Linked DNA regions of Homo sapiens: all the other regions are linked to region 4. The links are contacts of gene promoters, found by promoter capture Hi-C in blood cells and fetal thymus (Javierre and others, 2016). All regions are on one chromosome and are shown on one strand. The core of a region is centred on a gene start or on the middle of the fragment in contact, and the rest is flanking DNA. Distances in the headings are between cores, read along the strand shown.

Region 1 (3,957 bases), core at 848-3,347, 1.9 Mb before region 4:
TAATATATCACTGGTGGAACGGTCAGGAGGATTTTGCCACATATTAGCAATGTGACTTTGGCTTTCTCATACCTAAAATTAGGATTGTGATACTCATTGTACTTTTCCCCTCAATAAATGTGATAATGGAAAAATTACAGCTTTTCTAATTTGCCCTTTGGCCTACTATAATCTGGTCTCTGCCCTCCCCCACTCTCCTGACTGCTTTCACCAAGGTTATAAATCACCTCTTTGTTGAAAATTCCAATCCTCTGCCATTCAGTAGTATTAGCCACCGTATTCCAGGCTGTCTTCCATGACATATTCTCAAGATCCCAGGCTCATGGTTCTCCTGTCTCGACATATTCCCTTCTAACTCACCTTTGAGGTTTGTCTGTGTTCGTTATCTGTTGCTGCATAACAAATTACCCCAAAATTCAGAAGCTTAGAACAACATGGATAAAATGTGGCACATATACACCATGGAATACTATGCAGCCATAAAAAATGATGAGTTCATGTCTTTTGTAGGGACATGGATGAAGCTGGAAACCATCATTCTCAGCAAACTATCGCAAGGACAAAAAACCAAACACCGCATGTTCTCACTCATAGATGGGAATTGAACAGTGAGAACACATGGACACAGGAAGGGGAACATCACACTTTGGGGACTGTTGTGGGGTGGGGGGAGGGGGGAGGGATAGCATTAGGAGATATACCTAATGCTAAATGACAAGTTACTGGGTGCAGCACACCAGCATGGCACATGCATACATATGTAACTAACCTGCACATTGTGCACGTGTACCCTAAAACTGAAAGTATAATAATAATAAAAAAAAAACATGGATTCTCTCACACAGTTTCTTGATTTTTTTTTTTTTCTGACAAAATCTTGCCCTGTTGCCCAGGCTGGAGCGCAGTGGCACAAACACAGCTCACTGCAGCCTCAACCTTCTGGGCTCAAGCAATCCTTCTGCCTCACCTCCTGTGTAGCTGGCACTACAGGCACGTGCCATCATGCCTGGCTAATTTTTTAATTTGTTGTGGAGACAGGGGTTCTCATTATTTGCCTAGGCTGGTCTCAAACTCCTGGCCTCAAGCAATCCTCCCACCTCAGCCTCCTAAAGGGTTGGGTTTACAGCATGAGCCACCATACCTGGCCTCACGCAGTTTCTTAGGGTCAGCAATCTGGAGCAATTTAGCTGGGTGGAATGGCTTACCTGAGTTGTCTCGCTTGGGATGTCTCATGAGATTGCAGTTGTACTGTTTATGTATTTATTTGTGTTTAATTTAAAACTTTTTTTTAAAGGATACTCTTCTAAGGTTTTCCAAGCTTCCTCACATGGCTGTTGGGAGGAGGTTTCAGTTCTTCCCCACATGGAACTCCCTGTAGCCTACCATGACATGATAGATGGCTTCCCCCAGAACAAGGGATCCACAAGAATGAGCATGTAGCAAGCCTAGATGAAAGCCACAATGTCTTTTATGATGTAATCTCAGGAGTGACATGCCATCACTTCCACCCCTCTTGTCTGACAGGCCAACACTGATACAGTGTGAGAGGGGCTGACTACACAAAAGCCTGCCTGTGAAGAGGTGGTGTCATGGGCCACCTTGGAAGTTGTCTACTCCAATATCCTTCTTTGCTGACCCTGAAATGTCAGTGTCCGCCAGGATTTCATCCTCACACCTCATCTCTTCTCATTCTCCACACATGCCCTTGATACTCCAGGGTCCCCCAGTACCTTCCATTACCATCTAGATTCTAAAGACACCCATGTCTGCATCTTTACCACATTTCCCTCTCAAAAACTTCAGGGTTGCACGTTGCCTGTTGGAGCCCAGAGCACCTCAAAGTCCACACACTCCATAACGAACTCATCATCCCTCCAATTCGATTTCTCCTCTTGCACTTCCCTCTTGGGAAGGACAGTGCTGTCTACTCTGTTGCCAGGCAAGGAACCAGAAAGTCACTCCCTTTCTCTCATATCTAATCAGTGATTACCAAGACTTTTTAAAGTTTTTTTTTTCTTTTCATTTTTTCCCCATCTTTTTATTTTGAAAATTGTCAAACCTACAGAAAGGGCTGGAAGAAGACTAAAATGATTCATCATTTACTAGATTGCTTTCATGTAGATTCAAAATTGCTAATATTTTGTCTCATATTTGCTTTTTCTCCCCTTTCCCTCTCTCCATATATATTTTTTTCATAATACTACTAAGATGCTATTTACCTTTTCACTCTTATTATCTCACAGATATACTGTGTATGTGTGTATGAATATGATGGACATTTGAAAGTAAATTACAGACATTATGGCCCTTCATCCCTAAAGATTCCTGTGTGCATCTCTTAGAAATAAGAACATTCTCTTACATAACCAAAATGCCATTATTACACCTAAGAACCAAATCCAGTTGATTTCATCTTTCCACTATGGTCTCCAATTTATTTATTTATTTGTTTGTTTGTTTGTTTATTATTTTTTTGAGACAGAGTCTCACTCTGTTGCCCAGACTGGAGTGCAGTGGCATGATCTCGGCTCACTGCAATCTTTACCTCCCGGGTTCAAGTGATTCTTGTGCCTCAGCCTCCTGATTAGCTGGGATTACAGGCAGGCGCCACCATGCCCGGCTACTTTTGTATTTTTAGTAGAGGCAGGGTTTCACCATTTTGGCCAGGCTGCTCTCGAACTCCTGACCTCAAGTGATCCACCTGCCTCAGCCTCCCAGAGTGCTGGGATTACAGGCGTGTGCCACTGCGCCCAGCCATATGTCTCTGGTTTAGCCACTTTTCTTCAGGCCACAGTCTTCCTACCCTTCAATAATGCAATCACCTCCTAACCCTAACTGGTTCCTTCTTCAGTCCATGCTCCACACTGAAGCCAGAGTAAGCTTTCTAAAATGCAAATCTGATATGTCACTTCTCTACTTCAGACTTTTCAATGGCTCTACATTACCTTCAAAATAAAGAATAAGCTTTACATGACACACAAAGCCTTCATCATCTAAATTCATCTACAGCAGTACACTCCAGGAGAAATAAAATGTGAACCACGTATGTCATTTTAAATGTTCTATTATCCACATTCTAAAGATTTTAATAAATATAGCTTAAATTAATTTTAAAATACATTTTATTTAACCCAATATATCAAAAATATTATCATAGCAAAAAATACTCAATATAAAAACTATTAATGAAATATCTTACATTATTTTTTTCTAAGTCCCCAAAATCTGTCATGTATTTAACATATACAGCATATCTCAATTCAAATGCTAAATTTTGAAGGGTTAAAGTGAAATGTATTCCTACCAAAACTATAAGGTCATGTTTAACAACAACAACAAAACATTTTATGAGGTTCCAGTTTTTAAATTTGAGTTTATTAAATTACATATAGCTGGAAGTCCTGTCTCTCATTTGCACTAGCCACATTACAAGTGCTCAGCAGCCACATGTACTTAGATGCTACTGAAATAGTAACATATCTAGAGCCGCGGTTCTCAAAGCATGATCCAAGGTCCTCTGGGGGTTCCCTAAAACATTTCCAAGTGGTCTCTGAGGTCAAAACAATTTGAATAATAATACTACAAATCTATTTTCCTTTTTCACATTCATTCTTTCACAAGTATACAGTGGAGTGTTTCAGAGGCTACCCATCATATCACAACAGATTGAATACAGAAGCAGATAAAAGAATCAGCATTCGGGGGCTGGGCGCGGTGTCTCACACCTGTAATCCCAGCGCTTTGGGAGGCTGAGGTGGGTGGATCATGAGGTCAGGAGATCGAGACCAGCCTGGCTAACACGGTGAAACCCCATCTCTACTAAAAATACAAAAAAATTAGCCGGGCGTGGTGGCGGGTGCCTGTAGTCCCAGCTACTTGGGAGGCTGAGGCAGGAGAATGGCGTGAACCCGGGAGGCAGAGCTTGCAGTGAGCCGAGATCACACCACTACACTCCAG
Region 2 (3,773 bases), core at 1,183-3,682, 1.6 Mb after region 4:
CCAAGCAGGCATAGCCAATGCAAAATTTCAACTTGAAAGTGAGCAAGACAGGCTGGGCACAGTGGCTCGCGCCTGTAATCCCAGCACTTTGGGAGGCTGAGGAGGGTGGATCACAAGGTCAGGAGTTCGAGACCAGCCTGGCCAACAGGTGAAACCTCGTCTCTACTAAAAATACAAAAATTAGCCGGGCGTGGTGGCGGGCACCTGTAGTCCCAGCTACTCGGGAGGCTGAGGCAGGAGAATTGCTTGAACCTGGGAGGCAGAGGTTGCAGTGAGCTGAGATCATGCCACTGCACTCCAGCCTGGGTGACAGAGTGAGACTCCATCTCCAAAAAAAAAAAAAAAAAAAAGTGAGCAAGATGAAGAAGGAAACATGCCTAACTCTGGCTACCAGTGGGGACCGCCAGTGTTTGTGGAAGTTGCAGTTTTGGTGTCAATGGTGGCAGCAGCAATGGATTCTCACTAGATCGTCTAGTGTGTTTGGGTACCGTTGTTTCCATATTTGGCCTCTGGCTCTCCTAGAGATTCTGTGAGCTACATGATTTTTTAAAAGTCCTTTTCTTTCTCAACCAGAGTGGATTCCGTTGCTTGTAACTAACTGCCTGACCTAATCAAGCTGAGATCTGAAAGATGAGTCAGTCGTGGGAAGAGCTGTCAGGGTGGATCAGTAATCTGAGCAGAGGGCACTGAAGAGTGTTGGCTCAAGGAACTGAGAAGAGGATAGTGTGGTGGGAATTTGGTAGAAATCAGGAGAATGATAGTTGATGAGGTTAGAGAGGGAGGCACAGGGTTTAGAACCTGAGGGCTCAGGCCATGGTGAGAAGTTTATGGTTTATGTAAAGTATAATGAAAGTTAACATATGATGGGCAGAGGATGCATGATCTGATTAATGTTTTGCCTCTTAATGTGGAGCACAGATTAGAAGGGGGACAAGAGAGAACATGGGAAGAGTATTAAGGTTAAATCGTATTGAAATTGCATTTCATGTCTGTTCCCTTATGAGACCACTGAAGCCGAGAACCATGTCTAATTCAAAAGTGCACAGCAGGTGCTCAGTGTATTAAAATGAATGAATACACTAATGCACTGAATTTTTGTAACAACTCTGATAGGCAAGTCTTCTGCCCATTCCATAGATGAAAAATCTGGTAAAGAGATCCAAGCATTAGGCACTGTCCTAAGAATGTTACATATATTAACATATTAATCTTAGAACAACCTCATGAGGTATATGCTGTATTATCCCCACTTTACAGATGAAACAACTGAGGCACAGAGAGTTTATGTAATAAGCTCTAGGTTACTCAGCTAATAAGTGGTAGTGCTAGGATCTGAATCCAGGCAGTCTGGCCTCACAGGCTCCACTCTTAACCACTACACAGACTGCCTCATATGGATACTGATGAATTCTAAACACACACACACACATATATATAAAGATACACCTTTAAATGAGTTAGAAGAGTAACTACTATTCATAGAATAAAAATCAAATATAACTTTCAAACCACTAAAGCGGGAAAAAAACTGGAAAAAAAGACTGTCAAACCAAAGGCAGTAAAGAGAACAGGAAGCATGATACATAGAAAAAAATGAGTGAGATATATCTATGAATAAGTTAAGTGTTAGTATTAACAGGGAGAAATCTCAAATGAGGGGGACATGTACATGCTTTTAAAAAACATACCGAAAACAAAATAGAGTTAATAACTGCATTAGCTTTATAGTCAGAGAAACTCTTGCACACGTGTACCAGGAAACATGTACAAGAAAATTTACTGTCAGCAGTTGGTAACAGCAAAAAAAAAACCAAACAACAAAACAAAAAAACTGGGGCAAAAAAATAACCTGTGTTGGCATGGAATGGAGCAACAGCAGCTCTCCTACATTGCTGATGGAGGGTAAGTTAGTACAACCACTGGAGAACAATTTGGCAATATCAAAGTTGAACTGTGCAAACCCTTCCACCTTGCAATTCCATTTCTAGACATTATCCTAAGGAAATTCTTACCATATGTCTAAGAAGCTGTGTGCAAGAACTAACTCATGTTATAATGACAGAAATCAGGAATCATGAAATTGCTAGCAACTGGAGAATGGATAAATGGTGGTACAATTATACAATGGAATACTATTCAGCAGTTAAAATAAAACTAGAACTACAGGAATCATCCTGGATAAATTTTACATACATAATTATAGGTGGCAAAAGTAAGTGACATGCATATCATTTATATTAGGTTTAAAAAGCATAAAACAGTACTTTATGCTACTTAACATCGCTACATGTATTTGGAGCATACATAAAAGCTTTCATGGGAATGACAGATACCAAATTCAATGAAGTAGTTAATTTCAGAGAGGAAGAGAGGGAGAATGAGATTGCAGGCAGTTTCACAAGGAGCTCTAACTGAATGTTAAAATCTGAAGCAAATAAGAGAAAATGTTAAAATGGGATAAAGCTAGATGGTTGGTATACAAGTGTTCATTATATTATTTTCTGTAACTGTACATTCTGGTAATATTTCATATTAAACATTTTAAAGGAAAGTTAAGCTTCCAAGATTCTATAAAAAGAACAAAATAAACCCAAAGAGATAAGAAGAAATTAATGAAGGCATACATTAATGAAAGAGAAATTACTTTTAAGACAGATTTTATCTATAAAACCAAAAGCTGGTTTGATAAATATGATCAAGAAAAAGACTCCAATACAATATATAAGAATATATATATAAGAATATATAAGAATGGTTGAGAACAATATGAGATTTTTTTAAATGTTAGAAAATATAGCTGAAATACTTTTTTTTTAAAGATGGAGTCTCGCTCTGTCCCCCAGGCTGGAGTGCAGTAGCAAAATCTCAGCTCACTGCAAGCTCCGCCTCCCGGGTTCAAGCCATTCTCCTGCTTCAGCCTCCTGAGTAGCTGGGACTACAGGCGCCCGCCACCATGCCCGGCTAATTTTTCATTGTCGTATTTTTAGTAGAGACGGAGTTTCACCGTGTTAGCCAGGATGGTCTCGATCTCCTGACCTCGTGATCCGCCCTCCTCGGCCTCCCAATGTGCTGGGATCACAGGCGTGAGTCACCGCACCCGGCCAATACTTTTCTAGAAAAAACTAATTTTCTCAAGAAGCAAAAGAAAAAATTCTAGGTATCAATAACGATGGACGCTATATAAAAAACAAAACTATCCATTAAGATGGCACCACACCCAGAAGGCTTTAAAGATGAGTTCTTCAAAACCTAAGAAATGTATCATTCACACATGCTATGTCTATTCCAGGTCATACAAAAATAAGTTAACCTGTCTGACTCCTAGCACAACCTGATACCAAAACTAGACAAGGACAGCAAAAGAAAACCATAAGCCAATCTAACTTAGGTGCATACATGAAAATCCAAAATTAACTACACAGCAAATTGCATCCAGCAATATATTGAAAAAATAAGATACCAGGATTCTAAGTTTGGCTCACCATTAGAAAATCTATTATTGTAGTTATTTTATTGTAGAGTAATGGAAAAAAGGCCATACAATCATCTCAAAGACTGATACTGAAAATACTTGGTAAAACTTAGTCATTTGCTGATTAAAAAAAAAACCGATATGGTAAACTACGAAAAGAACATAATTTGCCTATACACCCACACACACACACACCATAAACCTGCAGAAGATATCTTGAATGAAACCTAAGATGCAATCCAAAATAACTCCTGGTAAGAAATAAGTACCTCCGGCTACTATTCAGTGTTGCACTGGATTC
Region 3 (3,777 bases), core at 726-3,225, 1.9 Mb after region 4:
AAATACAAAAATTAGCTGGGTGTGGCCAGTATGGTGAAACCCTGCCTTTACTAAAAATACAAAAATAGCTGGGTGTGGTGGCACGTCTGTAGTCCCAGCTACTTGGGTGGCTGAGGCAGGAGAATCGCTTGAACTTGGGAGGCAGAGGTTGCAGTGAGCCAAGATTGCACTACCACACTCCAGCCTGCTCAACAGACCGAGACCCTGTCTCAAAAAAAAAAAAAAAAAAAAAAAAAAAAAAAAAGTCCGGGCACGGTGGCTCAAGCCTGTAATCCCAGCACTTTGGGAGGCCAAGGTGGGCGGATCATGAGGTCAGGAGATCGAGACCATCCTGGCTAACATGGTGAAACCCAGCCTCTACTAAAAATACAAAAAAATTAGCTGGGTGTGGTGGCAGGCGCCTGCAGTCCCAGTTACTGGGGAGGCTGAGGCAGGAGAATGGCGTGAACCCGGGAGGCGGAGCTTGCAGTGAGCCGAGATCGCGCCACTGCACTCCAGCCTGGGCGACAGAGCAAGACTCCGTCTCAAAAAAAAGAAAAAAAAAAAGGGTAGCATAGGAATCACTCACATGACAAACCCTAAAGGTTGGCCAGAGTTAGCCCGCATCATGAGTGAGGGCAGGACAGCCCAGCAGAGACCACTAGACACCAGAATAGAAAGAGACACTGGGAGATGAGAAGCATGTGGGAGTCAAACAGGGACAGGTTACAGGGAACATCCTTTCCCCTATAACTTCTTTCCTTTTTCCTTCATATTCCATCCATTCTTTAAGTCTCAGCTCATGCCCAATTTCTTCTCTGAAATTTTTCCTGATTGACTTCAACCCACTATGATCTATCTTCTAATTACTCTTAAGAGTAATCAACTGTGTTTTTACTCATTTAGAATTATACTAGGCCATATTACTAGCTTCTCATGTGCATGTATCTTCTCTGCCTTATTAAATGGAAAATTCATCCTCCAACAAGTATAAATAGAGGCTGAGTCAGGTGCCAGATGCTGAGGATACCACAGTGAATAGGACAGACATATAGTCCTGTAGGTGGAAGAGATGGATGTAACCTAAGTACACAGAGAAACTCCACTGTGACAAATTGTGGCAAGAATTAAGAAGAAAACAAACGAAGAACTGAGATGATTCCATTTAAACAGAGAAAGAAGATGAGCAACTCTATAAGAGTGGGGCCAACCCTTGAACTTCTCGATAACCACTCTCCCCACACCCATGGTCTAATTCACTGTCTTCACACTTTTCTTGCTAACTGTGCTCATGTTGTCAGTTTTCATTTAAATTTGGTGAAATCTCAAATAAGAGAGTATTTGCACTTGCATTTTCTCCCACAGGCACTCTGTACATGTCCATAGAGACACTGATTGCTATTATTATTATTTTTTGAGACAGGGTATCACTCTATGGCCCAGGCTGGAGTGCAGTGGCACGATCACAGCTCACTGCAGTCTCAACCTCCTGGGCTTAAAGCAATCCTCCCACTTCAGCCTCCTGAGTTAGCTGGGATCACCGGTGCACATCACCATGCCTAGCCAATTGTTTTAACTTTTTGTAGGGATGAGGTCTCACTAAGTTGCCTAGGCTTATCTTGAACTCCCGGGCTCAAGCCTCTCAGCCTCCCAAAATGCTGAGATTTCAGGCGTGAGCCACCACGCCTGGCCTGATTAATTTTAATTTTAATTTTCTTTTTCTTTTTTTTTTTTTTTTTTTGTGATAGAGTCTCACTCTGTCACCCAGGCTGGAGTGCAGTGGCGCCATCTCGGCTCACTGCAACCTCCGCCTCGCGAGTTCAACAGATTCTCCTGCCTCAGCCTCCCGAGTAGTTGGCACTATAGGTGCAGGCCACCATGCCTGGCTAATTTTTGTATTTTTAGTAGAGACAGGGTTTCACCATATTGACCAGGCTGGTCTCAAACTCCTGACCTCAAGTGAACCACCCGCCTCGGCCTCCCAAAGTACTGGGATTACAGGTGTGAGCCACTGCATCCGGCACCTAATTAATGTTTAAAAGAAGCTACTTGAAGATTAATGAGCATCCCAGACTTAATGTGCCAAAAATCAAGTTCCTGATCTTCATCCCAAATTTGTTCTCCTCTCCATCTTCTTAGTCTCCAGTAACTAATGTATCTGATTTTGTTGCTGTTTGTTTGATTTACTGCAGTATTCCCAGCACCTAAAATGTGCCTGGAACAAAGCAGGAACCCAGCACTTGTACATCAAATGAATGGATGAATGAACAAAGCCATATTTCATTGCCCTCAGCTTCGTTTTTTTATGTTGCATTAAAGACCCACTAGAGGGCTGTACATCACTGCATAATAAACGAGGAGCTGGCGCCTGCGCGGCAGCACTACTCCGCCTGTCCCTACAGGAAATCCCCAGATTTGCATGTGTAGAATTTAAAATCAGACAAGACATTTGTGTATAAGTCTTATCTCCACAATTACTTGAAGCAATTTGAAGTCAGGGATTATGGCAATTCTTTCGAGTGATTAAAAAAGATTTCTAGAAAGAAAAAAGGAGAGATTCTTTGTTTATAACAATCAGAAGCTAAGAGATGCTTTTAAAAAAAAGATGCATGACATACTATATGCTCAACAAATAACCACGTTCTAGAACAAAGAATGAGGTGTTAGGCAGACTGTTCTTAACAGCCACATACCACGTGAGATAAACAGGACAAGATGTAGACTGAGAGACAGCTTCAGCTAAATGGCAGGCAGCTGGAGGATATGATGAGAAGAAAGTTATCTTTGAAACCAAACAGTGTTTAGTTAAGAGCTCCATCACATTTTAAAAGGCAATAGTTTTGAATTTATACCCAAGGGTACAAATTAGGGAAAAACATTTCTTTTCAATATAAGGATAAACTTTCAGACAAAGACAGACATTCATAATTTTCCATGTTTTTTCCTGTTACTTGTAAATTCAGGATATTTGTTATCTCTAAGAATATTCATCACCTAAATGTGATAAGACAAATGTTAAAACTAATTATGGACGGTGAGGCCTGCTAGAGTCTGAATGCTTGTGACCTCCCTAAATTCGTATGTTGAAACCTAACCCCCAAGGTAATGGTATTAAGAGGTGGAGCCTCTGGGGGAGTGATTAGTGCCCTTATATTAATACAAAAGGCCCCAGGGAGTTTGTTTGCCATGTGTTTGCCCTACCATGATGTGAGGACACATAGAGCATGCCATCTATGAGAAACGGGCTCTCATCAGACACTGAATCTGCTGGCACGTTGACCTTGGACTTTCCAGCCTCCAGAACTGCAAGCGATAAGTTTCTGTTATTCATAAATTACCCAGTCTAAAGTATTTTATTATAGCAGCCTGAACCACCTTGCACAGGACCATAATGTGTTTCTAAGGGACTTAGGAGGTTTTAGAGGACACGCCTACCTTTTCCATCGGGGGCAGCACAGTGATGGTAGGAGCAGTGAGCTTGAGCTCCAGGTTCCCAGGCTCTTCTAGTTCTGTCTTCTTTGTGTGTTTGTTGGTTTGTTTGCTCACTCTGTCACCCAGGCTGGAGTGCAGGGGTGCCATCTTGGCTCACTGCAGCCTCCGTCTTCTGGGTTCAAGCAATCCTCCTGCTTCAGTCTCCCGAGTAGCTGGGATTACAGTTACCCGCCACCATGCCCGGCTAATTTTTGTATTTTTAGTAGAGGTGGGGTTTCACCATGTTGGCAAGACTGATCTTGAACTCCTGACCTCAGGTGATCCTCCTGCCTTGGCCTCCCAAAGTGCTAGGATTACAGGCGTGAG
Region 4 (3,409 bases), core at 488-2,987:
TTGTTGACCTAAGTGACTGTACCTTTTATCTTGAAATTACATAGAAGACAAATGGCTATTTATGGGTTCCTTGGCTGGCCCAGCTGCTGGGCACCACCCGCTCTGTTTGCATGTGTTCCTCATATTCTCCGGCCCTGTCCTCCCATCCCCACCCCAGCCTCTCCGAATCTAATTAGGAATAGTAGATGGTCACTAGAACTGACAAGAATCGCATTCTAATGGTTTTATTACAACTTCTATGGTGTGACACAGTATCAGGGAAAACCCAAATTTCCCACAGTAGCACTCCAATAGCAGAGCTATTATTTTGCTTCTCATTTCTCTCATTTTGGACGCTCCTGTTTTACCGTAAATATTCAAGTGAATTCTGCGGCTTATGATTTAAGCACTCTGTTTCTATAGAACATGGTAGCATAAGTTACTATTAGGAAAAGGATCTCACCATCTTTATCCTGTGGTCTCAAGCAGCCCTGCACACTTGCAAATCCCTAGAATACTGAGTCTACTTTTATATTTTTGCTTTTTCCTGTTTATTTAGGTGTTATTTAAATACATTAAAATTCACCCATTTTAACTGTACAGTTTAACTTTTCTTATGTATACAAGGTGTAACTACTAGCATGATCAAAATGTAAGATGGTTCCTTTACCTTCAAAAGCTTTTCCATCCCCTTTTGTCCGAGTTCAGTTATGAGACACTGGATTGGGTTTCACAGCCTTTTCTAGCATTGACTGGGGTGATTTCAGTAAAGTCACTTTACCTCTCTAGATGTGTTTCTGCTGTTGTTAAATGGGGAATGCTGGAACAGATTTGTTTGCGGGGACTCTTCCAATACTTTCAGAAAATGCGAGAATAGGGTGAGGGTGGGAATCTCAGACTTGTGGGCCCCATGATTGATATAACACACACAGGCGGCAGACCCTAATGGGTAAAAGCATGTGGTTGCATCAGTTAAGGTTTTTCTCTCTTCTCTTGCTAGCGTGTTATCTTTTCTTTTCTTTTCTTCTTTTTTTTTTTTTTCGAGATGGAGTCTAGCTTTTGTCGCCCAGGCTGGAGTAGGCTGGAGTGCAGTGGAGTGATCTCGGCTCATTGCAACCTCCACCTCCCGGGTTCCAGCGATTCTCCTGCCTCACCTCCTGAGTAGCTGGGATTACAGGCGCCCGCTACCACGCCCGGCTGATTTTTGTACTTTTAGTAGAGACGGGGTTTCACCATGTTTGGCCATGCTGGTCTCGAACTCCTGACCTCAGGTGATCCGCCCATCTCGGCCTCCCAAAGTGTTGAGATTACAGGCGTGAGCCACCGCGCCCGGCCGCTAGCGTGTTATCTTTTCTAAGCATCAGTTTCCTTATCTGCAACACCAGGCTTATTAACAAGACCTATCTGTACACTGTTGTGGTGATGAAGTGAGATGTTCAGGCACCCTTAAATGTTGGTTGATATTTTTATTGCAGTATACTGTAAAGTCACTGCATTCGACTATCTCCGCTACTACACATTTACGCAGACTGATTTCCATAACCAAAACACAAGCACAAAGCTCATGCCCCCGACTCACGCAACCCGGGAAGCCCAGCTGCCCACGTTCTAGGGCTCTGAGAACACTAGTGAACGAACTCCCGTGCTTTCAAAGAGCTGCGGTAGGGGGCAGAACCGGGAACCGGATGTTCTAAGCCTGTCGTACGAGCGCGACGTAAAGCGGATCTGCTTTATGGCACCTTGCTTTCGCCGTAAAGCGCAGTCAGCGAGCCCACGTGCTTGTGTTGACTGGACAACTTCCTGGTGGAAAACCGCGACTCTTGCAAGTGGGCAAACTTGACGTTTTCGCTATGGGCAAACGCGGGAGCCGGAGCCAGAGCCAGCTACTCAACACCCTAACTAAAAAGCAGAAGAAACATCTTCGAGATTTCGGCGAGGAGCATCCCTTCTATGACAGGTCTGAAGGGGCGTGGCAGGGCTCCCCAGTCGCCAGAGATGTATCCTCGAGTTTGGTCCTCTGGTCTCCCAGATAGTGCTGCTCCGGCCTTTTCCCACTATTCCCTGGCTCCCGCTGTGCTCGGCCGGGGAGATTCTGGCGCCATCCCGCCGGGAGATGGAGTGCTTCACGGGCCTTTTTGTTGAGCCTGTAATTTCCTGCTAAGAGGCACGCCCGTTGTGTGGGGGAGGATTTTTTTTTTTTTTTTAAGACGGTGTTTCGCTCTGTCGCCCAGGCTGGAGTGCAATGGCGCGATCTTGGCTCACTGCAACCTCTGTCTCCTCCCGGGTTCAAGCGATGCTCCTGCCTCAGCCTCCCGTGTAGCTGGGATTACAGGCGCCCGCCACCAAGCCCGGCTGATTTTTTGTATTTTTAGTAGAGATGGGGTTTCACCATGTTGGCCAGGCTGGTCTTGAACTCCTGACCTCAGGTGATCCACCCACCTCGGCCTCCCAAAGTGCTGGGATTACAGGCGTGAGCCACCGCGCCCAGCTATGGGGGCGGATTTTTGTGTGGTCAGAGATCTAGGAATTTTTTGTAGACACACATATATATATGTATATATATAATTTTTTTTTTTTAAGACAGAGTCTCGCTTTGTCGCCCAGGCTGGAGTGCAGTGGCGCGATCTCAGCTCACTGCAACCTCCGTCTCCCGGGCTTAAGCGATTCTCCTGCCTCAGCTTCCCGTGTAGCTGGGATTACAGGCGCCCGCCATCACACCCGATCAATTTTTTGTATTTTTAGTTGAGACGGGGTTTCACCATGTTAGCTAGGGTGGTCTCGAACTACTGACCTCGGGTGATCTGCCCGCCTTGGCCTCCCAAAGTGCTGGAATTACAGGCGTGAACCACCGCGCTTGGCCTGTTTTTATAATTATTTTTAACTTACATAAAATGATTGTACATATTTGTGGGATACAGTGTGATATTTTGATAACAATACATGTACCCAATGTGTAATGATCAAATCCGGGTAATTAGCATATTCATCATCTCAAACATCAATTCTTTGCGTTGGGAACATTGAAAATCCGCTCTTCTAGCCATTTGAAAATATACAATAAATTGTTAGTTATAGTCACATCATATGTTGTGTGTGTTTTTAAAGAATTTGTTGGGACATCATTGATCTTTGCAATTACGATAAGGAACTAAGTGTATTAGTAGTTGTGGTTTCTCTAGAAATGTCTAGGTGCAGTTATGATCTCAATGCTCATCCCACTACTTTGGGCTGCTTTGTCATCAGTTAGGGACATTCTTTTTTTCTTTTCTTTTCTTTTTTCTTTTTTTTGAGGCAGGGTCTCACTTCGTTGCCCAGGTTGGAATCCAGTGCTGCAATCCTGGCTCACTGCAGCCACCACCTCCTGGGCTCAAGCGGTCCTCCTGCCTCAGCCTTCCCAGTAGCCGAGACTACAGGTGCACAACACAACTCC
Region 5 (3,860 bases), core at 1,112-3,611, 1.5 Mb after region 4:
TATTTTGTCCCAACAATTGTGCGAAGATTATTCTAAAAACTGAGGTAACTGCAAATAATCCTCTCTGTAGATTTTATGGAAGATAACGTTTTAGTAATCATTGTGGTCTGTGTTTGATACAGTCCCAAAGATAAGGGCCCAGGGCTTAAATTACACGCATGACCATGACGTATCTGTCTTCCCTTCTCTTTTTCCTGCGAACTCTCTTCAACTTTCATCATAGCTCTTTCTTGCCAGGCCTCTCTCCTTCTCCTGGTCCTTGCCTTCTTCCCAAGCCACTCTTGGCTCCCTGATTGCTGCAGTTGGAGAATAAGTGATGAATTTCTATAGCTTGTGACTATCCATTTCGTAGGTAGATGAACACCTGGCTGTATGTCCTGAAGCTGAGCAAGACTGTCCTTTTAAGCACTATGGCTGTGCTGTAACGGTATGGAATGACTTTTTGTTTCTGCCTATACATTCTACTGTATAATTCACTTGGCAAGTTCAGTTTACTCTCTGTTCCATCGAGGATGGAGAAAGACATACAGTTCTGAGAAATTTAAGGCTAATTATTTTAGAGTTCTCCAGAGAAACAGAACCAATGGGATATATACATATATAGAGAGATTTATTTTAAGAAGTTGGCTCTTGCAGTTGTGGGGGCTAGCAAGTCCAAAATCTGCAGGGCAGCTCAGCAATCTGGAAACTCTGGCTGGAGTTTCTATGCTGCAGTCTTGAGGAGAAGCATTTTTTTCTTCAGGAAACCTTAGTGTTTGCTCTGAAGGCCTTCAAATGATTGGATGAGGCCCACCACACTATGGAGGGTAATCTGCTTACTTCAAGTCTACCAATTGTTTTCATCACATCTGCAAAATACCTTCACAGCAACATATAGACTTGTTTTGAGCAAACAATTGGGCACCATAGCCTAGCCAGGTTGACACATAAAATTAACCATCACAATAATTATTCGGGTTTTTTTTTTTTTTTTTTTTTTTTGAGACAGAGTCTTGCTCTGTCACAGGCTGGAGTGCAGTGGCATGATCTCGGCTCAATGCAACCTCTGCATCCTGGGTTCAAGCAATTCTCCTGCCTCGGCCTCCTGAGTAGCTGGGATTTCAGGCACCCGCCATCATGCCTGGCTAATTTTTGTATTTTTAGTAGAGACAGGGTTTCACCATGTTGGCCAGGCTGGTCTTGAACTTCAGACCTCAGGCGATGCGCCTGCCTCGGCCTCCCAAAGTGCTGGGATTACAGCACCGTGCCTGGCCCACAGTAATTATTTCTAATTTTGATTCCATTGCCTCCACCTGGTTTGGGAACCTTCTGGGGTTACTCCTCTCATGATTACAAATCCTGGTTTTATGGTGATATACTCTTGTATATCACCAAGTATACTGAAACAAAATGGACTTAAAATCGTGTTTTAATATGTATGTTATTACCTTTTAAATACTTTAAAATAATAATGAATTACACAAAATAAAAATAAAATTTGATTTCTACTTCAGTCTTTTTAATAGATTCCAGGTGGAGCAAAGTTTTAGGCATTAAAATATGTCATGCTCTGTATTATTCTGTATTTTCTGTAAATCTAAAATTATTCCAAAATAAGAAGTTAACTTCAGAAATCATGAAAATACTAGAAGGAAAAATGAGTGAATTTTTTTATTCTTAAAGAGGCTGGTGCGATGGCTTATGCCTGTAATCCCAGCATTTTGGGAGGCTGAGGTGGGTGGATCATTTGAAGTCAGGAGTTCGAGAGCAGCCTGGCCAACATGGTGAAACCCCGCCTCTACTAAAAATACAAAAGTTAGCTGGGTGTGGTGGTGCACGCCTGTAATCCCAGCTACTTGGGAGGCTGAGGTATGAGAATCCCTTGAACCCGGGAGGCCAAGGTTGCAGTGAGCCAAGGTCGCGCCACTGCACTCCAGCCTGGGCAATAGAGTGAGACTGTCTCAAAATAAACAAACGAAAAAACCCCCCCAACAACAACAAAAGCCCTTTCTTAAATGACTAACACAAAACCAGAAGCCATAATTTTGATAAATTTGTAAATATTTAAAACTTCTGTATGATTTTAAAAAATACCATAAAGTCAAATAGCAAACAGTGAACTGGAGGGAAAAGTTTGCAACATATGATCAGACAAAAAAAAGGGGGGGGCTATTTTCCTTAATATACAAAGAAACCTTACATGTTAATAACCTACTCAACTTAATGGAAAAATAGGCAAAGAAATATAGTATATGGGCAGTTCCAGAAAAAAATTCATTTGGCTGATAAATGTAAGAAAAGATGCTCAGTTTCACTCCTAAATAAATATACATTATAACAAGAAATATACTTTAATATCATCAAATTGACAAAGATTAAAACATCTTATGATATCTCACTTTTTTTAGGGCAATTTGGTTATCTCTATGAAAATAAAAAATGAATCCACACATTGACCCTGCATTTCTGCTAGGATTTATGTTACAGATATCCTTTCTTAAGTTATACAGTGATTTCACATACACAAAGACACACAAAGATGTTTATTCTACTATTGTTTGTATAGCAAAAAAACCCCACAACCCAAAGCTAAAAACAACCTGTAAGTCTATCATTAAAACACCAACTATATAATTATGTATTCATATTTTAGAATACTATGTAGCTGATAAAAATGAGATATATGTAAAAAATTAAATATAGTATGTTCTCATTTGTGTTAAAAATGTGTATATCCTTACTGACACTCTGGTAAAACTAGGAAAGTGGGTGTGGAGATGGACAGAAGAGGCCTTTTACTTTTTATTCTTCATCTTATGTTGTTTGACATAAGCACATATTTCTTTTATTTTAAAAACCATTTGAAAAAATGTATATTCTGAGAAGGATTTAAAAAAAAATCAGCGAAGAGTCTATAAATTTGTCACATATCAAACCAGAGGTTGTCTTGGCTGCAAAAAGAATAGGGTTTACCTTTCTTGTGCATGAGCACAATTGTCCAGCTTGGGCAACATATTGAAACCCTGTCTCTACCAAAAAATACAAAAATCAGCCAGGTGTGGTGGCGCACCCTGTAGTCCCAGCTCCTTGGGAGGCTGAGGTGGGAGAATCCCTTGAGCCAGGGAGGCAGAGATTGCAGTGAGCCAAGGTCATGCCATTGTACTCCAGCCTGGGCAACAGAGTGAGACCCTGTCTCAAAAAAAAAAAAAAAAAAAAAAGCAGAATTGCTTTCTAGCTCTAAAAATGATCTTTACAGTCAGGCCCAAATCTCCAGTTGGTTTGTATTCTAGAACTTGCCTCAGCACCAGAGCTTGGGATGGCTGGGGGAGTTATTCTCCGGAACCTTATTTAGGACAGCCTGTCACCAAAGAAGCCAACCCTAACCCGAATGAAAATTGATGATAAATATTTAGTTAAACTGCATGGATCACCTTGAACACCTAACAAACATTTGCTTTTACTGTAATATAGGCAGTCTACAAAAAAAAATATTTTAATGATTAGGGAAAAAGCAACCATTTCTTCTTGCAAATGTAGTCTATGGTTTTGAGGGCAACAAATTTGTATGGGCTGAAATTAAAATCAGGTGGCATTCCTCCTGCCCATGGCAGCCAGTCCGTGATTGGAGGCAGCATGGAAATGTGCTTGACAGGAGGAAGAACTAGCGTTGACTTAAAACTGATTTGAAGAGGCCAGGCGCTGTGGCTCATGCCTGTAATCCCAGCACTTTGGGAGGCCAAGGCAGGTAGATCATGAGGTCAGGAGTTCGAGACCAGCCTGAGCAATATGGTGAAACCCCCGTCTCTACTAAAAATACAAAAATTAGCCAGGCATGGTGGCATGTGCCTGTAATCCCAGCTACTCGGGAGGCTGAGGCAGGA
Region 6 (3,397 bases), core at 12-2,511, 2.0 Mb before region 4:
CAGGCAGATGGAGACACAGGTCTACAGTTCAGAAGAGAGTTTGGGCTGCAGACAAATGATTAAGGGTCAACAGCATATAGACTTTTTAACTTTCCATTATAGAAAATTTCTGGGCTGGGCGCGGTGGCTCACGCCTGTAATCCCAGCACTCTGGGAGGCCAAGGTGGGTGGATCACGAGGTCAGGAGATCGAGACCATCCTGGCTAACACGGTGAAACTCCGTCTCTATTAAAAATACAAAAAAATTAGCTGGGCGTGGTGGCAGGCACCTGTAGTCCCAGCTACTCGGGAGGCTGAGGCAGGAGAATGGCGTGAACCCGGGAGGCGGAGCCTGCAGTGAACCAAGATTGTGCCACCGCACTCCAGCCTGGGCGACAGAACGAGACTCCTCAAAAAAAAAAAAAAAAAAAAAAAAAGAAAGACAATTTCTAACATAAGTAAAATGAGAGAGAACCGTATAATAAACCCCCAGGTACCCATCACCCAGCTTCAACAATGATCAGCTCATGGTCAATCTTATTGATCTCCCAGGATTACACTGAAGCAAACTCTGGAGATCACTCATATAGATGGTATTAAAAGCCATACAACAGGAGAGGATCACAGACAGAATGAGAGAAGATAGAGAGGAGGTGCCCAGGGCCTTTAATGTTTAGAGGTCAGGGAGATGAGAAGCCGAGAAGGAATGGCCAATTAGGCAGATGGAAAGCCAGAAATACACACCCTGGAAGCCAAGTGAAGAAACAGCGTCAAGGAAAAGGGTATGATCAGCGGTGCCAAACTGAAGAGCTCCTGTGAGGAAGATGAAGAAGTGACCACTAGAGTCAGGATCATGGGAGTTACCATGGACCTTGCCAGGAGCACTTTCATCAGAGTGGTGTGAGTCAAGAGAGGATGTGAACACAGCAAGGACTGAAAATATGGAGGGACAGATGATGGGGCAGTAGCTGGGAGAGGTGACCAAAGAAGACTTTTTGAAGATGAGAAAGCCTTTGGAAACGATCGAGCAGGGGGAAAAAGTGGTGATGCAAGGAGGAGGGGACAGGCTGGGGCAATGTCGAATATGTGAGAGTAACTGAAATTTAGGGCAAAGTAGAAGGCTGCCCTCGGACAGAACCATGAAGAGTTCATTTAGGAAGAAGGTAGGGAATACAATATATCCTAGCCATTTGAAGTCTTTTGTTTTGTGTTTTATAATACTATAATGTATTTTAGCACAGCACTACTTTTTATAAATTATAAATACACACACAAACAAGGGGAATTGCTCAAAAGTTTTAACTGATATGGGCACACAATCAAAACGATTAAAGACCACTTAACTGAAAGAAAACAAAACATATCATCAGAGGCTGAACATGCCTTCAGTGACAAGGAGATATGTATCATAAGGATACTAGGTTTTATATCTGAAAATATACTTTTATTAACTAAGATTTTTTTAAAGGCTCAGACACTATAATCCAGTAACTACAATACAGTTGCATTTGAACTGAAAATGCAAAAATATAAGAAGAATCATGGACCATTCTCAAAATCAGAGCATCACAGGAGTCAGAGTCTGATTATTTACTTACATAAAGAAATGTAAATCAGTTAAAAGTTTTATCAGCAAGACAGGCCTGAATTGTATCATCATATTTAGCTACTGAGGCAGACTGGCTAACCAATACACAACGAACAGCAAATCAAGAAAGTGGGCCTGTCATCTGAAAGGCTGGCAGGTAGCCTAACTGGAACAGGCAAAAGCCCCAAACCAACCTGAAGTCCACAAAGCCACAGAAACATCCAATTTGCTCAAACATATTAGCAACACTTGGCTTTTGCCAAGCCCTGTAACAATTCAGAGCCCCCCTCTTTAAACGTGTTCATTTAGCCTCTCCACAATCCACCAATTCAGGAAGCTCTCCATTTTAACTTTCAGAGCTATCCACACTCAAGCCCAAAAGTGTTACATGGATACACACAAGGCCCAAGCAGCACCACAGTTAGAATGCCGGGTCGTGTGGCTATGAGACACAGGCCTGCCACAGAAGCCATGCCTGGCTTCTTGAACATTCTAGGCGCACCTTTGTCAACCACATAAAATGACAGCATGAGAGCATGAACACCAAGCTATAAAAACGTGGCAGGTCTGCCTGCACAGAAGTGACGGTTGTGGTCACACTGCTCAGCTGGGGTGAACGCACGGGGAAAACTGCCAAGCAGCAGCTCTCCTGTGGTCAAACTGTAAGCTCCAGGAGTTGGGCCCTGTCTGTCCTTTTCACAGGTGTAGGCCCAGTGTCCAGTACAGCTCCTGAAACAGAGCAGGCTCCCAAGAAACATCTACTGAAGGAAGGGAAAAATGACTAGCTACATTAAACCATAAAGGCAAGAGGGATCATGAAAAAATGCTCAAAATCATAAAAATCATCTAACAAAACTCAGGAAGCTGTTGATGGCAGCTGACTGGGAAGAATCGTGGGTAGCTAAGTAAATCTAAAAGGTAGAATTGCAAAACATAAATTCTTTTAAGAATGACCATAATCTTTATTAACAGAGCCTTGAAGATTTGTCATCAACTAAATGAAACATGAGGATCTTGTTTGGAGCCTGACTCAAACCAACTGGCTGTTTTCAAAAAAAAAAAAAAAAAAGAAAGAAAGAAAGAAATTGAGACATCGAAGGAAAGTTAAACACCATTTGGATATTTGGATGACAGGAGATATTTAGGGATGACTGTGCTTTTTCAAGGTGTAATAATACCACTAGGGTTAAGTTTTTAAAAGGTATTATCATTTAGAGATATATTAAAAAGTATTTATAGATAAAATAATACAGGATCTAGGTCTTGCTGTAAAATAATCCAAGAAGGGAGTAAGAAAAAGGTGGGTGAAGGTATAAAAGAAATGAGAAAAGCCATGTGTTGATTACAAGTCGAAAAACTGGGGGATGGGAACATTGAGGTGTATTACGCTAACTCTATCTTTGTGTACCTGTGAAAATTTCCATTGACAAATTTGAAAAAAAAAAAAAAGACTAACCATAATGTCAAACCATAGTTAATTTCCTCGCATTTGCCGCACTGTTGGAAAATAACTGAGAGGCATTTTTAGTCATACATGGACACAGTGGTTTCTGAGGAGACCAGCAGAACAGAGCTGAGAGTCCCATCTTTTCTTTATCCCTGCCATCATGTTCATCTGAGACTCACTTGTGTCATTTCTGCTTTCATCCTAGGCCTGAAGAGGTCTCCATGTTTCCTCTCACAATGGCTCCTACTCTCCTTCCACTCTTCCCTTCTCTGCCGCTGGTTAGTTCTTCACAATTCTGGTGGCCCTCTGCTATACCCAATGATCCTGACTACCTCTAACCCACCTTTGTAGCCAGGTTATATTCCTTCCTTCTCATGGCCCTA
Region 7 (3,970 bases), core at 100-2,599, 1.7 Mb after region 4:
TATATTTCAATAGAGCTAACCCAGGGTTTCCATGGCCAATTCAGAAGGCCATACCTGCACTGTTTTCTTGGGCAGAACAATCTTCCTAACAGATCAGAGGAGTTCCTGGCTACCTTGTGCTATAGTGATCATTGTATCAAAGGTTATGAACCTCAGAAGTCAAAACTTCAGAGTTTCAATTTGACTATCAAGGCATGGAATCACAGTTCCTGGACTTAAAGATGGAACTGATGTTCATACAAAACACAAATATCTATGTAAAAAGAGGGGACTAGATGTAGTGTCTGGTTCCTGTGGGAGACACTGAAAGAGGACCCGCTGGGTTAGCCATCTATGGTTTCTGGCATGGCAATACTGCCTCTCTAGGACACATTTGAAACAGTTGGGGTGTCTTGATAATGGGGAGGGAAAAACGATAGCTACAGGCATTCATGTGGAAGTAAGCCAGAGTTGTTAAACTCAATGCATGGGACATTTCTGCACTGATGAATGGTCTCACGCAAATGCTAACAGCACCCCTGTTGAAAAGTGGATGGTCTTCTCCCTTTGACTCCTCATCCACATTTACCTCAATCACCTCTGCCCCCCAAAGATGCACTGTTTTCAGTGTAACCCTAAAGATATTTAAGCCAGCCAGACAATATTATGTGAAAACAGTACTAGTTTGTAAAGAATGGTACTTGTCCACAAGGCTGGATTAAAACCAAGAGAGGCCCTAAATCCTTTAAAAAATTGGAATTTCTCTCCCTTATGTAATTAAAAATAAATGGTACTAAACCATAATTTAAGAAGGTCTAATTTAGGTAAGAAAGTTCTGATTTCTGACTATTTTGTTGTTTTTTTTAATAAATATTAAATGCTCTGAAAATTATTTTATGTACTTATTGATTTATTAGACAAAGTCTTGCTCTGTCACCCAGGCTGGAGTGCGGTGGCACAATCTCAGCTCACTGAAACCTCCACCTCCCAGTTCAAGGGATCCTCTTGCCTCAGCCTCCTGAGTAGTTGGGATTACAGGTGCCTACCACCATGCCCGGCTCACTTTTGTATAAAAATTACTTTTCTTATTTCTTTTAATGCCCCTCCTTTGCTAGTACTCAGTGCCTATGCTTTGTCTATTGCTGCTCATTGGATGAAAATTAGAAAGAACTCTTCATTCTGAATTTACTTAAGTGGGTTGTTGAAAAGTCCAAAGTTGTGGGAATGCAAGTGACTTGCAGAGGACTAGATCTTTTGCTGAGTTCCAGTTCTGGCTCCATCACTGACTATATGACTTGGGGTAAGGTGCTTTAATATCTGTTTGTCTGTAAAATAAAGGGAATAAAGGAATACACCTAATGGGTTGTAAGGATACATGAAAGCATATGTGCCCTGATATGTAGTAAGTGCTCAGTAATAAGTGATCAGAAGTGCCCAGTATATTTGCGAAACCTCATCTCTATAAAAAAAAAAAAAATACTAAAATTAGCCAGGCATGTTGGCGGGTACCTGTAGTCCCAGCTACTCAGGAGACTGAGGTGGGAGGATCGCTTGCACCCAGGAGGCAGAGATTGCAGTGAGCCAAGATCCCGCCACTGCACTCCACCCTGGGCGACAGAGTCAGACCCTCTCTCAAAAAAAATAAAAATTAAAAAAAAAGTTAGTACTCAGTGTATCTTATCTATTAATAGTGTAACTACTGTATATCTTTTTCCATTCCTGCCATTCCTAAATATTCCAGACAACTTTAAATACCTGCAATGTGCTGGTCCCTGTGCTATATCCTTAGGAAATAAATATGGAAAAGACATAGTCTTGACCGAATAGAGTTTATAATCTAGAAGTGAAACTGGTTTTAAAATAAGAACAAAGTGCCACAAATTACTTGTTTTAAAAGAAAAAAGGCTGAGCTGGGTGTGGTGGCTCACGCCTGAAATCCTAGCACTTTGGGAGGCTGTAGGGGGTGGATCATCTGAGCTCAGGAGTTCGAGACCAGCCTGGGCAACATGGTGAAACCCTGTCTCTACTAAAAATACAAAAAATTAGCTGGGCGTAGTGGCGCGAACCTGTAGTCCAGCTACTTGGGAGGCTGAGGCAGGAGAATCCCTTGAACCCAGGAGGCGGAGGTTGCAGTGAGCTGAGATGGCGCCACTGCAGTCCAGCAGGTCGACAGAGCAAAACTCAACAACAAAAAAGGCTGAATAGAGTAGTGGGGGGGAAAATGATGGTCAATTCTGAAGGCTCAGAATTGTCTATGAAATTTATTTAAAAGCAATGTTACTTGACTTTTTAAATTATTTTTATCCAATTCAAGGAACAGCTTTCATCTAAATGTGCAATGCATAGTACATGAAATTTCAGGGAATATTGTCATATAATCTTTTGAAAGACCATATTGCCTGGGAAGATAATTGTTTTCTGAACCCTGAACAATAGACACATCGAGATAAGAAAAAAGTTTGGCCAATGGCAATCATAAGATACCACTGATTGTACTATGCATTCTGATTTCAGAAATGCTAAAATATAAGAAGAATGTGTGTGTGGAATCAATTGAAATGTAGTATATGTACATGTGGACATGTGTATTTGACTTTTAGCATTGAATTATCTGGTAAACTGATTTGTCTTCCTGTCTCACTTTGCCTACATGTCATTCCAAATATGTAGAGTACCTTTCCCACTTTCTTATTTATCTACTCAAAAAATTATTGATAGTGAAATTGGTAGTGTCGTCCTTTCCTATGAAACCAAATTTAAACTAGTTGTCATGGCACTTTTAACCTTTATAATCTCTTTATACCTCTCAACCCCTTAACTTTTTAACCTTTTTTTTTTTTTGAGACTGGGTTGGGCTCTGTCACCCAGGTTGGAGTACAGTGGCACTATCTCGGATCACTGCAAACTCCATCTCCCCAGCTCTAGTGATCCTCCCACCTCAGCCTCCTGAGTAGCTGGGACTACAGGCATGCTAATTTACCACACCTGCCTAATTTTTGTATTTTTAGTAGAGATGGGGTTTCCCCATGTTGGCCAGGCTTGTCTCAAACTCCTGGCCTCAAGTGATCCACCTACCTCAGTCTCCCAAAGTGCTGGGATTACAGGAGTAAACCACCATGCCCAGCCCTGGCTAATTTTTGTATTATTATTTTTTTGGTAGAGACCTGGTTTTGCCATGTTGCCCAGGCTGGTCTCGAGCTCCTAAGCTCAAGTGGATCTGACCCACCTCAGCCTTCCAAAGTGTTGGGATTACAGGCATGAGCCACCCTGCCCAGACCCCCAATTCTTTATACCACTATTCCTGCTCCCTTGCCTCTCAAACCCTACTCCTTTCCACTTTAACCTACATATCCTTTCCAAATTTTTTTTTACCTCTTCTTTGGAATATCTACTGTATATAGATCAATTCCTTTATCTACTGCCATTTATTGTCAGTTGATTTTTTCAACTGTTGTCTCACAGCCCAAAATACAAGTTCTTTAATGAATTTTTTTATGAAACTACATTTGTGATAGTCCTGAGGCTCATAGAACCACAATAATATACTATTGCGTTAAGAATTTTAGATGATTTACAGGTGTAAAATATTTAATAAACCTTATTAGTAACTATGCTTATAAATAAAAAAATAGCAAGTGCCAAAAGCAGCAGGTTAACCACAACTATATAATCTATAAGCTTAATGCTTATAATAAAATTCAAAGCCACTGAGTATTTCATATTAGTGAGCCTTTGCAGTGTTACCCTTTCAATTTTTAATTGCAATTTTTGCTTACATTTTCTTCCACACCCATCTTGTAACCTAGTCACTCTGTACACTTGCAACATTTGTGTTAAACTGAAATTTCTCTTTCAATTATCTGAAATCCAACTCTCTGTGTAACTAAGCCTAGTATCGGAGGGGAGGCCATATGCACAAATGAAGTAGATATTAAAATTAGTTTATTTTTCTACTTAACTTTTAATAAATGAGAAGAAACACAGTAGTCTG

The links. Contacts are between HindIII fragments. The CHiCAGO score rates a contact against its expected background, and 5 or more counts as called.
Region 1: a fragment that was not itself captured here is called in contact with the fragment with the promoter of UTP25 in region 4 in 1 of 17 cell types (neutrophils); the score reaches 6.8 in neutrophils.
Region 2: a fragment that was not itself captured here is called in contact with the fragment with the promoter of UTP25 in region 4 in 8 of 17 cell types (non-activated CD4 T cells, total B cells, fetal thymus and 5 more); the score reaches 11.2 in non-activated CD4 T cells.
Region 3: a contact is called between a fragment that was not itself captured here and the fragment with the promoter of UTP25 in region 4, in 4 of 17 cell types (fetal thymus, total B cells, activated CD4 T cells and 1 more). The highest score is 8.0, in fetal thymus.
Region 5: a fragment that was not itself captured here is called in contact with the fragment with the promoter of UTP25 in region 4 in 1 of 17 cell types (non-activated CD4 T cells); the score reaches 5.5 in non-activated CD4 T cells.
Region 6: a fragment that was not itself captured here is called in contact with the fragment with the promoter of UTP25 in region 4 in 1 of 17 cell types (neutrophils); the score reaches 6.3 in neutrophils.
Region 7: a contact is called between a fragment that was not itself captured here and the fragment with the promoter of UTP25 in region 4, in 1 of 17 cell types (fetal thymus). The highest score is 5.1, in fetal thymus.

Annotation. Positions count from the first base shown.
Region 1 is chr1:207,877,675-207,881,631 of GRCh38, forward strand. CD34 (CD34 molecule) reads right to left here. Exons shown (of 8, transcript NM_001025109.2): 8 at 3,298-3,957. Among named protein-coding and RNA genes, the nearest start is that of CD34, 31 kb to the right of the region's middle. The HindIII fragment of the contact is 1,562 bases long and covers 1,317-2,878 here.
Region 2 is chr1:211,378,381-211,382,153 of GRCh38, forward strand. It overlaps LOC124904504 (a long non-coding RNA gene), which reads right to left. Exons shown (of 2, transcript XR_007066868.1): 2 at 1-3,773. Among named protein-coding and RNA genes, the nearest start is that of LINC00467, 2.5 kb to the right of the region's middle. The HindIII fragment of the contact is 246 bases long and covers 2,310-2,555 here.
Region 3 is chr1:211,678,581-211,682,357 of GRCh38, forward strand. All of the region lies in intron 2 of NEK2-DT (NEK2 divergent transcript), which reads left to right. Among named protein-coding and RNA genes, the nearest start is that of NEK2-DT, 4.7 kb to the left of the region's middle. The HindIII fragment of the contact is 4,776 bases long and covers 1-3,777 here.
Region 4 is chr1:209,826,235-209,829,643 of GRCh38, forward strand. It overlaps UTP25 (UTP25 small subunit processome component), which reads left to right and starts at 1,738. Exons shown (of 12, transcript NM_014388.7): 1 at 1,738-1,936. The coding sequence starts at 1,830. RefSeq lists an enhancer at 1,778-1,827. The HindIII fragment of the contact is 3,327 bases long and covers 657-3,409 here.
Region 5 is chr1:211,360,736-211,364,595 of GRCh38, forward strand. TRAF5 (TNF receptor associated factor 5) reads left to right here. Exons shown (of 11, transcript NM_001033910.3): 6 at 1-44; 7 at 353-427. Among named protein-coding and RNA genes, the nearest start is that of LINC00467, 20 kb to the right of the region's middle. The HindIII fragment of the contact is 5,726 bases long and covers 1-3,860 here.
Region 6 is chr1:207,859,877-207,863,273 of GRCh38, forward strand. No RefSeq gene overlaps it. Among named protein-coding and RNA genes, the nearest start is that of MIR29B2CHG, 39 kb to the left of the region's middle. The HindIII fragment of the contact is 8,351 bases long and covers 1-3,397 here.
Region 7 is chr1:211,567,664-211,571,633 of GRCh38, forward strand. It overlaps SLC30A1 (solute carrier family 30 member 1), which reads right to left. Exons shown (of 2, transcript NM_021194.3): 2 at 3,905-3,970. Among named protein-coding and RNA genes, the nearest start is that of SLC30A1, 9.5 kb to the right of the region's middle. The HindIII fragment of the contact is 4,611 bases long and covers 1-3,655 here.